3 separate regions of the Homo sapiens genome follow, and regions 2 and 3 are each linked to region 1. Evidence: promoter capture Hi-C in 16 types of primary human blood cells and fetal thymus (Javierre and others, 2016). All regions are on one chromosome and are shown on one strand. The core of a region is centred on a gene start or on the middle of the fragment in contact, and the rest is flanking DNA. Distances in the headings are between cores, read along the strand shown.

Region 1 (3,023 bases), core at 249-2,748:
TTTCATAGAAGAAATGTCGCTATGGGCTTATACTTGTTTCATGCACAATTATAAAATGCTTGGCTATACAGGCTTTCATATTATACACCAGATAAAGAGGAATAAAATTTTAATTAGGAAATTGAAAAAAAAGGAAAGGGAGAATTTGGGAGGCAATAGGTATTAATAGAAGGACCATGGAACTTGTAATCATACAGACCCTAATTTTAATTCTTACCTATTCTTGAAACACAATTATCTGGAAGACTACAAACTTTCTAAGTACTGTGAGGGGTGGATTGTTACTCTTTATAGTGGACTTGTTACTATTTATAATTGTTGAGAATAAACTTACCACAACAGATTTTCTCTGGAAATTTATGTTGTTGATGCAGACGACCTGATGGGTTGTATATTAATAAATATAAAAAGAAAATAAGGAAAAAATAATTTTTATTATTAAATCAAAGTATAATTCTATCCAAGTATAAATTAGGACTATGTTCTAAGTAATTCAAAATTACATGTCAATATTTCATTTTAAAACTACGAATTGGGGCCTGGTGCGGTGGCTCACGCCTGTAATCCCAGCACTTTGGGAGGCCACGGCAAGCGGATCACGAGGTCAAGAGTTCGAGACCAGCCTGGCCAACAGAGTGAAACCGAGTCTCTACTAAAAATACAAAAGTTAGCCGGGCATCGTGGCACACGCCTGTAATCCCGGCTACTCAGGAGGCTGAGCCAGGAGAAAAGCTTGAACCCGGCAGGTGGAGGCTGCAGTGAGCCGAGATCGCGCCGTTGCACTCCAGCCTGGGCGACTGAGAGACTCCGTCTTAAAAATTAAAAAATTAAAAAAAAAAAAACACTCTACCAATTGGGATAATTTTTTAAAATCTAGCAACAGTCACGAAAACAGATTTGACAGAAATACAATCTAGTACTTAGACAAAAACTTTAGTAACTTGCAACGGGAATTAAATTTGCTGAATAACCTGTCATTCAAAACATTTTTACCTTACAAACACCATTTCCATCACAGTGAGTAAATTCTAGTTTCCCACTAGGTTTCCCAGGCCCACCAAGTCAATTTCAAGCAATCGCAAAATATAATTAATGGCAACAAAACCAAAAGGAAGGAAGGGAAATGAAAAAATACTTATAATTTATATGGCCTTGGGCTTTCAAAGCCCTTGTCTCCTTTCTTCCTGTTCATTCTGGCGGGCTCTACACCAGTCAGCGGCATGAAGCGGTCCCGCGGAGCTTGGCTTCCCGGCTTCCTAGGGGGATACGGGGCATTACTAGTCTTTGGCACCTCACACTCTCCACTCCCCTGCGGTCCCCAAGTCACGTCTCGCAGCTGGCCGGTGCCCAGGTGAGCGACCTGACGGGTCGCTGCCCGCCTCAACCTCGCTCCTTCGACTAGCTCCTAGAAGCCGCCGTCGACAAGCTTCTGTCACAGAGATGCTCCTCTCCGCAAGGGCTCGAAGCTACCATCCGCCGACATCTTGTCTGTAACCTCTGACCTCCGACGTCAGCGGAAGTGGAACGGCGGCGGGGGTAGAACCAGGAAGTCTTGTCAATGGGCAGGGCTTGCGATCTTCGCATGTGTCTTATCGTAAAGAATTGTTAAAATTTAGGATAGGGAAAAAACTATTTAATGGATGAAGCGAGAACAGCAGGAAGAAAAGGAGGGAAGGTAGTTTTCTAGTACAAGCATATTGAGAAGAATGGAGGACAAAGTTTGCGAAGAGCCAGGTATAAATAGGCTGGGGCAGGGTGCTAGTAACTGGGCGGGGTGGGGTGGTGGGAAGTCTCCCGAAATCAGGAGGTGCGTGCCTCTGGCTTGCTGTGTGAACAGACACACTGGGTCCGGTGATTTAAGCTGTAAAATATGTGATTAGACTGCAGGTAGTCTAAATGTCAAAACTGCAGCACTCCACAGCTCTCACTAGGCACTGCTGCCTTAGTATTTATTTTAAAATATAGATTACAAGGCCGGGCGCAGTGGCTCACTCCTGTAATCCCAACACTTTGGGAGGCCGAGGCGGGCCGATCATTTGAGGTCAGGAGTTCGAGACCAGCCTGACCAACATGGTGAAACCCCGTCTCTACTAAAAATTACACAAAATTAGCTGGGCGTGGTGGTGCACGCCTGTAATCCCAGCTACTTGGGAGGCTGGGGCAGGAGAATTGCTTGAACCTGGGAGACGGAAGTTGCAGCGAGCTGAGATCGTTCCACTGCACTCCAGCCTGGGCGACAGAGCTGAGACTGTCTCAGAAAAAAAAAAAAAGAATAAAATATAGACTACAGGCCAGGCGTGGTGGCTCACGCCTGTAATCCTAGCACTTAGGGAAACTGAGGCAGTCATATCACTTGAGGTCAGCAGTTCAAGACCAGCCTGGCCAACATGGTGAAAGCCCGTCTCTAGTAAAAATACAAAAATTAGCCCTGCGTCGTGGCGTGCGCCTGTATTCCCAGCCACTCGGGAGGGTGAGGCACCAGAATCACCTGAACTCGGGAAGCCGAGTTTGCAGTGAGCTGAGATCATGCCATTGCACTCCAGTCTGGGAGACAAAGCGAGACTCCCTCTCAAAATAAATAAATAGACTACATAGAGATATATAGACTGTGTATATATATCATATAATCCATATAAATGCAGAAACATTTATTGAAAGACATTTCGAAGCCATCGTGTTTGTATTTCATGTTCATGACAATAAAACTTGTAAACTTCAGTAACAGTTAAACCTTCTTTAATTATGGATTAGCCATTAACATTTTTGAAACGTGGACCATTTAACCTCGGCCTACCCCCTCCAACTGTCCTGGTGATGAGTTCATTAGCTAAGTTAAAATTAATTTGAACTTTGATCTAAACCAAAACAAATCAGGAAAATAAAGCTGTAAAGGAACTTTATCAAGCATTCCAAAACCAACTAGAAATTACTTGAAGTTTTCGAGTGAGCATTGCCTGTGCCAGTATTCTTCATTATAGGATTATAAACTCGTTTTTTTCCCAAAGCGCATGTCTACGCCAGGC
Region 2 (3,023 bases), core at 140-2,639, 230 kb after region 1:
TTCAACCAGGGACTGAAGTACTCTCTTCTTACTAGTAGGAAATGGCTTCTGTTCACATCAACTACATCATGGATGACTTTGGATGATGTAAACCTCTTAATATGAAAAAGATTAAGTCCAGAAACAAAGCATGCCTTGGTTCATCTGGCAACTCTGGTGAGGTCAATCGGAGGGTCTGTAAGGGCTGACACCCCTCCTTGCGTGAACAGAGACTGCCTCTCATTTGCCCCCGCTCCTAACCCCTGCCACCCCAAAAAGAATTCTACCACAAAAAATAAAAATACAAGTTCTCATTCAATACCCTCCTTTTTTTGGTGGAAACATTTCTTTACAGTTAATGTCTAGACTCTAGATTAAGTTCACGTAAAGCTTCCCTTTTTAAAAATTCATGCTGACTAGGAGTTAAAGTGCAAGGCTATTTCCTTTTGATCTCCTTGCCGTTTGTTCTCCATGACCACCAACTGACTTTGCCTGTCTTTTACTGTTTCCTTCCCCATTTTTACTCACAATCTGTTACGTCTCCTTATCAGCTTCTGGCAGCCTCTTCCAGCGCTCATTGAATGCTGAGCTCTCTCTATGGGATGCTGGCTACAATGGGGGTCTCTGAGATGCTGGCTACACTGGGGACAAGCATAAATATGAGTGTGGGGGCAAAACTGTACAATGGAAGCAGCACTGTGGAGCTCATTTGGAGAGGCTGTATCTGCTGGTGGATTCCTGTAGGATGACAGATGGGAAAGACAGCCAAAAGTCAGCACCCGGGCAGCAGAAAGATATATCCAGAAGCAAGTCCAGGTGCTGGTATTGGACCTGAATTGGAGATAGAGCCAAAAAGCATAATCTACACAATGCATTTGGTGGAAATACATTAGGAGACAAAATGAAAAATGGAAAGGGGCCGGGCGCTGTCGCTCACATCTGTAATCCCAACACTTTGGGAGGCTGAGGCAAGCGGATCACTTGAGGCCAGGAGTTGAGACCAGCCTGGCCCACATGGTGAAACCATGTCTCTACTAAAAATACAATAATTAGGTGGGCGTGGTGATGCATACCTGTAATCTCAGCTACTCAGAGGCTGAGGTGGGAGAATCACTTAAATCCTGGAGGCAGAGGTTGCAGTGAGCTGAGATCATGCCACTGCACTCCAGCCTGGGCAACAGAGTGAGACTTCGTCTTAAAAAAAACACAAACAAGAAAAAAACAACAACAAAAACAAATCTGCAAAACTGTGTGCAGAGTTTCTGGAAAGCTACAGGGCATTATTCTGCTGAAAGACTAACTCCCAGGTTTACACAGCGACGATGATGGCAGACCTGGAACATGAATCAGGTGTTTCTGACTTCAGGACCAGTACTTTTGTTCACTACATTTTTCATCAGCTTAGGGCGAAGCACTGAAGGTGCCTCCTGCAAGGATCAATGCTAAGGTACAAGGACTCAGGATTGAATAATGTATTAGCCTTGGGCTTTTACAGATTAAGGATGTTGGGAAATTACAGAACCACAGTATGAAGCTCTAGAGGGAGTGCTGGAGGGTCAGAGCAGTGAGATGTGCTGTAAATAGGAAAACAAATCATGAGGTCAGAAGTCAAAAGAAGAGAATAGGGCAGAAGCATAGAGCCACAGAATTTACACTAGGAAAAGGGCTCAAGCTGGAGACTGAACCATAGGAGGATGCTAGAAGCCAGCTTTCATCTGATGTGGGTTAAGGGGGCCACCAGGATAGAGAGGACCCAACAGGGTAGACTTGAGACAAGGGATGAGGATATCAGAGAAACCACCAAAACTTCCTACAAATACTAGCCCAAAATGTCTTTGCCATGACTATGAAGAGTGGAAATGTCCAATAGATCAAGACTAGGTAAATTATCACTTGGGGTGATCATATTTGGGATTCTTGGTTATTCCAGAAAGATCAACCCCAATTCTTCTGAGCACCAATCATATGTATTTTAATTGTTCACTCAGCTCTCAATGGTATAGACATACAAATAGCTGCCTATACTATTGAATTATTAAATGCACATTGTTGAATATATTTTTCGATCCCCCAGTACCTATTCCTATTCTTTTGCTAAACCTGTATTTTGGGAGTAAATTGCCTTTCCTTCATTTTGTGTGGTTCTTGTGAGATATCTATCATGGTGCCCCAGTCTCTCCTAGTGAAAATGAGTCCCATACCCAAGCTATACCAATTAACATTCCCTTCCAGGACTTTGAATTTTGAGCAGAAGAATATAAAGGTATAGAAAAGAGTTGAAGTTTATTCACCCAGGTGGTTCCCCAGGCCTGTCTTGGTTGCTTTCCTCTCTGAGCATGGTCCTAGAGCTTTTGGATGAAATCTGTGGACTATAGTGGCCTTTCGTGACGTAGGGAGTAAATAACTCATGATTAGGACAAGGTGGTTGAGTAAGCTTGGAAGAGCCCACGGTATCAATTCCACAGAGGAAGTGGAGACCAAGCACCAGACACAGAATCAGGCATCTGCCAAAGAATTCAAGCAAGAATGCAAGCAATCAGATTCAGAAGGTGTACTGTGGAAAAGATTGCCTGATTAATTCAGAAAAGAGTGGTAGATCAGTCATAATGTTTCTTGCTTGCAAGTGACAGAAAACCAGCTTGAACCAGTTTTAAGAGAAAAGAAAAAGGCTGTATTGCTTTAGTTAACCACATTGCAACAGGAACAATGATTAAATAATTTATCATCCACCTGGGGCACTTCCGAGACTGAAAGAGCTACACTTCTGAGAAGGAAAGTTAATGATTAAGCTGGAACAACAGGTGTAAACTGGGACAAATGGGCCCTATACCCATTTGGATGTCTTCTCATCCTAGTGTAAGGAAGTTATGATGAATAAACCTGAAAGGCTGCCTGCCAGGGGTCTATCTCTCTCTCTGTATCTTTCTCTTTGTCTCTCTCTCTTTGTGTGTGTGTATGCACAGCTGACAGAAGCTCTGGGCTCGAATTCTTACAGGTTACCAATCAGAAAGGAAAGGATACTTCTTTTGTTTGCTCCAGTGTAA
Region 3 (3,023 bases), core at 234-2,733, 200 kb before region 1:
ATGGCCATCAGTAGCATAAATCTGAATGATTTGCACATCTGCTACCAAACAATAAAATGTTGTCATTTAAAATTAAAGGTATTGTTAACTCAATAAGGTATAAGTTTAAACACTGGCCTTCAAACCTAATTGAAGATTAATTAAATGAATTATCATATACTTAACACCTTATAGTTCTCATCAGCCTTAAAGGCATTTTCAAAAACTTTTTCAGATAAATAAAAGCGACTTTATCCCCATTTTCCTGGTTGGAAAATTAGATCTCTAGGCCTTGTATGAGTTAGCCAAGGCCTGGATAAAATTTTAGATCATCTCACTGTAACTACAGTATTTTTTTCATTAATGAAAGGTTTTTCAAACTTTTGTACATAGTTTTCAAATTTTAGAAGTTCTTTTCAAAATATAATTTTGGGGAAGATTTGCTGATTTTATTGATTCAAAAATCTAGGCTGAAGTTCATGGAAGACTGAGATTTCTGAGTATGTAAACTAGATAGAGGAGTCTCTACAGTTTTCAGATAGATGAAAAATCACTACACTACAGCCCCATTTAACAAAGAACTGAAAAATCTGTACCCTCCTTAGCTTCCAGTTCAGATAATTTCATTCCATTGACTCAAACTCCCCAATTTCTACCTGAAATTTCACATAAAGCCCCATGACAGGATAATCCTAATGACCGAGTTTTGCTCACAGAGCAAATGGCTGATCTACGTCCCCTTTACAGTTTCCTGCATTCTCCCATGCCAACATTTAAATAGCTTTTCATTGCAGAGCAAAATTTCTAAAATTATCAAATGAACATAAACCTTCTCACTTCTAGTTCCATTTTCTGATTTCCCTATGATTCTCAAAGAAAAGCTTTATCCATAAAGTTGTTAGTGACAGTCTACATTTCATATGAACCTATGAATTTCATTCACATACTTTTCAACTTTCCTTTCAAGCCACTAAAAACAATGATGAATTAAACTGAGCTTTTAAGTCTCTGTTAGCCAGCTATTCACAAGCTCACAAATTTCCTTTTGTCTTTTAAGAATTAAATTACTTACATATCAAAGAGGATATTCTATTTCCACCTGGAGACAGTTTCTAAATCACAAGTTTCAATAAAATAGACTCCTGCATAACACCACAAACATACACACTGCAAGTGCACATGAGTGCACAGACACCTGTAGACATATAAAGTCTCTTGCAGTCTTAAAGGCAAATCAAGTGGGCCACATCAGACATATGAGAAAAAGATGTCAAACTAAATCACAGTTATGGCTTATATTTTCTTAGAAAATTTATTCCACCCATCTCACCGTCTCATTAACCTGAATGCCCATTGTATTTACCCAACAGAATTATAAGTAGCTTTTCTCATTTCATATCTCCTAATAAATCTATAAATCTTTTATGACCTGGTATAAAAAATCCTGTTCAGCCATTATTTCCTACGCTAACAATAAATCCAGGTAACAAGTGTGTTAGTTAATTAATTATGACAGTCTGTTTGCACTGCCACAACCTTGAAACTAACACCCCAGTCCATAGTACAGCAGCGAGGGCATCCATGTGTACAGAACATTCTCAGCTATTGTTGAGGACTCTGAGAAGCTATGGTTACTAAACAACTGCATGCTTTTGAATGGTGGATCTCACTCTGATCAATCCGAAGCTAGCCATATATCAATACCCTTTGTGTTCCTTCTATTTGTTGCACCCTTGGAGCACTGAGCTTCCCAGGATTTCTTTGGCGCCTAAAAATGTTGTTGGAAATAGGCATGGCTGCCTCCTCCCCACCTAGTGTCTTATTCTTACAGGCTTATAAAATTCACCCAGTATTTTCTGATGGGAAGGCTTTTCTAATGGTCAGAATAACCAGTCACATGTGTCAATCGAGAGAGATCCTTTCTAAGCATATGCAGCATTTAAACGCATAAAGATATTTCCACTGTCTACAGGATGCTTTTACCTAGTTTACTAAGTACATCCTTGATTTTTATTCAGGAGAAATCAACCACAGTTCCTAAAAAGCACATAAGCTACATCAAAAGAAAAATTATTCAGGCATATCCAAACCATAAAATTCAGAGTTAGGTTGCATTGTATTCTAAGACTAAGCTTCACGTGGTTAGAAGTTTAATAAATTATTTTAGATGATATCATAAAGGCCTAAAATAACCAACGACTTAATTAAATAATTCAAGGAGCAAATTCGTGTAGCCCACTTAAGACCATTTAGGTTTATAAATTATAATATAGACCATACTACTTTTCTAGAAGTGGCATTTATTCATTAGTTCATATAGCTATTCTTATAACATGGAAATAATTTACTATACACAAAATATTTTCAAAGACTAATAAATCCAATCTATACTTTTCAAGTTTTCCAGTAGTGAGCACAGAAATTCAAGAGGCAATGAAACAGAATAATTCCTGGGATTTTTTTTTTTTAATCCAGAAAGAAAAGTAGAAATCATCTAAGTCTGCTCCTCATTGTACAGCTAAGGAAACAGACTTCACAAGTGACTTGCCCAACACCACACAGCAAGTTACAGGACTCCAGGGTACCAGCCTAGGATTTTAATGACTGTTTTCCAAAAGAAGTCACCTTTAAAAATAATGAGTGACTCAATTTTACATTCATTAAGGAAACAGCATTTAATTCTTTCAATCTCAGTTTTAGCCAGAGTAATATATTAAGAGGAAACAGAAAAAAAAAGTTCCCTTTAGTGTTCATTGAAAAGAACCAGCAGTTGGCTCTCAAGTTGCTAGCTTTCCCACATGACCATGCTAAGGATCTGATTCCCCTGTCTGTTCAGTCACAGTCAGTGTTAATGGGAGTGAAAAAGAGGCCTTTGAAGAGAGCATTTGCTGCAAATAAAAACAGCATTCTCTAGCTCAGTGATCCACTGTCCTCTGCCTCCCCAACAGAAGACGACTCATTTTGTCCATTTGGCTCCCTGGGGCTGCAAGTTTTGTGATCTATTTTCTCACTCTTAACCCCGCCACACCCCACTTCAATTCACT

What was found. Contacts are between HindIII fragments. The CHiCAGO score rates a contact against its expected background, and 5 or more counts as called.
Region 2: a contact is called between a fragment that was not itself captured here and the fragment with the promoter of TAF2 in region 1, in 4 of 17 cell types (monocytes, megakaryocytes, fetal thymus and 1 more). The highest score is 9.7, in monocytes.
Region 3: a contact is called between a fragment that was not itself captured here and the fragment with the promoter of TAF2 in region 1, in 1 of 17 cell types (fetal thymus). The highest score is 5.6, in fetal thymus.

What each region holds. Positions count from the first base shown.
Region 1 is chr8:119,831,343-119,834,365 of GRCh38, forward strand. TAF2 (TATA-box binding protein associated factor 2) reads right to left here and starts at 1,499. Exons shown (of 26, transcript NM_003184.4): 1 at 1,140-1,499; 2 at 335-389. The coding sequence starts at 1,222. DSCC1 (DNA replication and sister chromatid cohesion 1) reads right to left here. Exons shown (of 9, transcript NM_024094.3): 9 at 2,634-3,023. It overlaps LOC105375728 (a long non-coding RNA gene), which reads left to right and starts at 1,537. Exons shown (of 4, transcript XR_928590.3): 1 at 1,537-1,734. RefSeq lists enhancers at 1,151-1,200, 1,261-1,620. The HindIII fragment of the contact is 3,868 bases long and covers 1,425-3,023 here.
Region 2 is chr8:120,065,559-120,068,581 of GRCh38, forward strand. No RefSeq gene overlaps it. Among named protein-coding and RNA genes, the nearest start is that of COL14A1, 58 kb to the right of the region's middle. The HindIII fragment of the contact is 2,044 bases long and covers 368-2,411 here.
Region 3 is chr8:119,634,348-119,637,370 of GRCh38, forward strand. All of the region lies in intron 2 of ENPP2 (ectonucleotide pyrophosphatase/phosphodiesterase 2), which reads right to left. Among named protein-coding and RNA genes, the nearest start is that of ENPP2, 3.0 kb to the right of the region's middle. The HindIII fragment of the contact is 1,251 bases long and covers 859-2,109 here.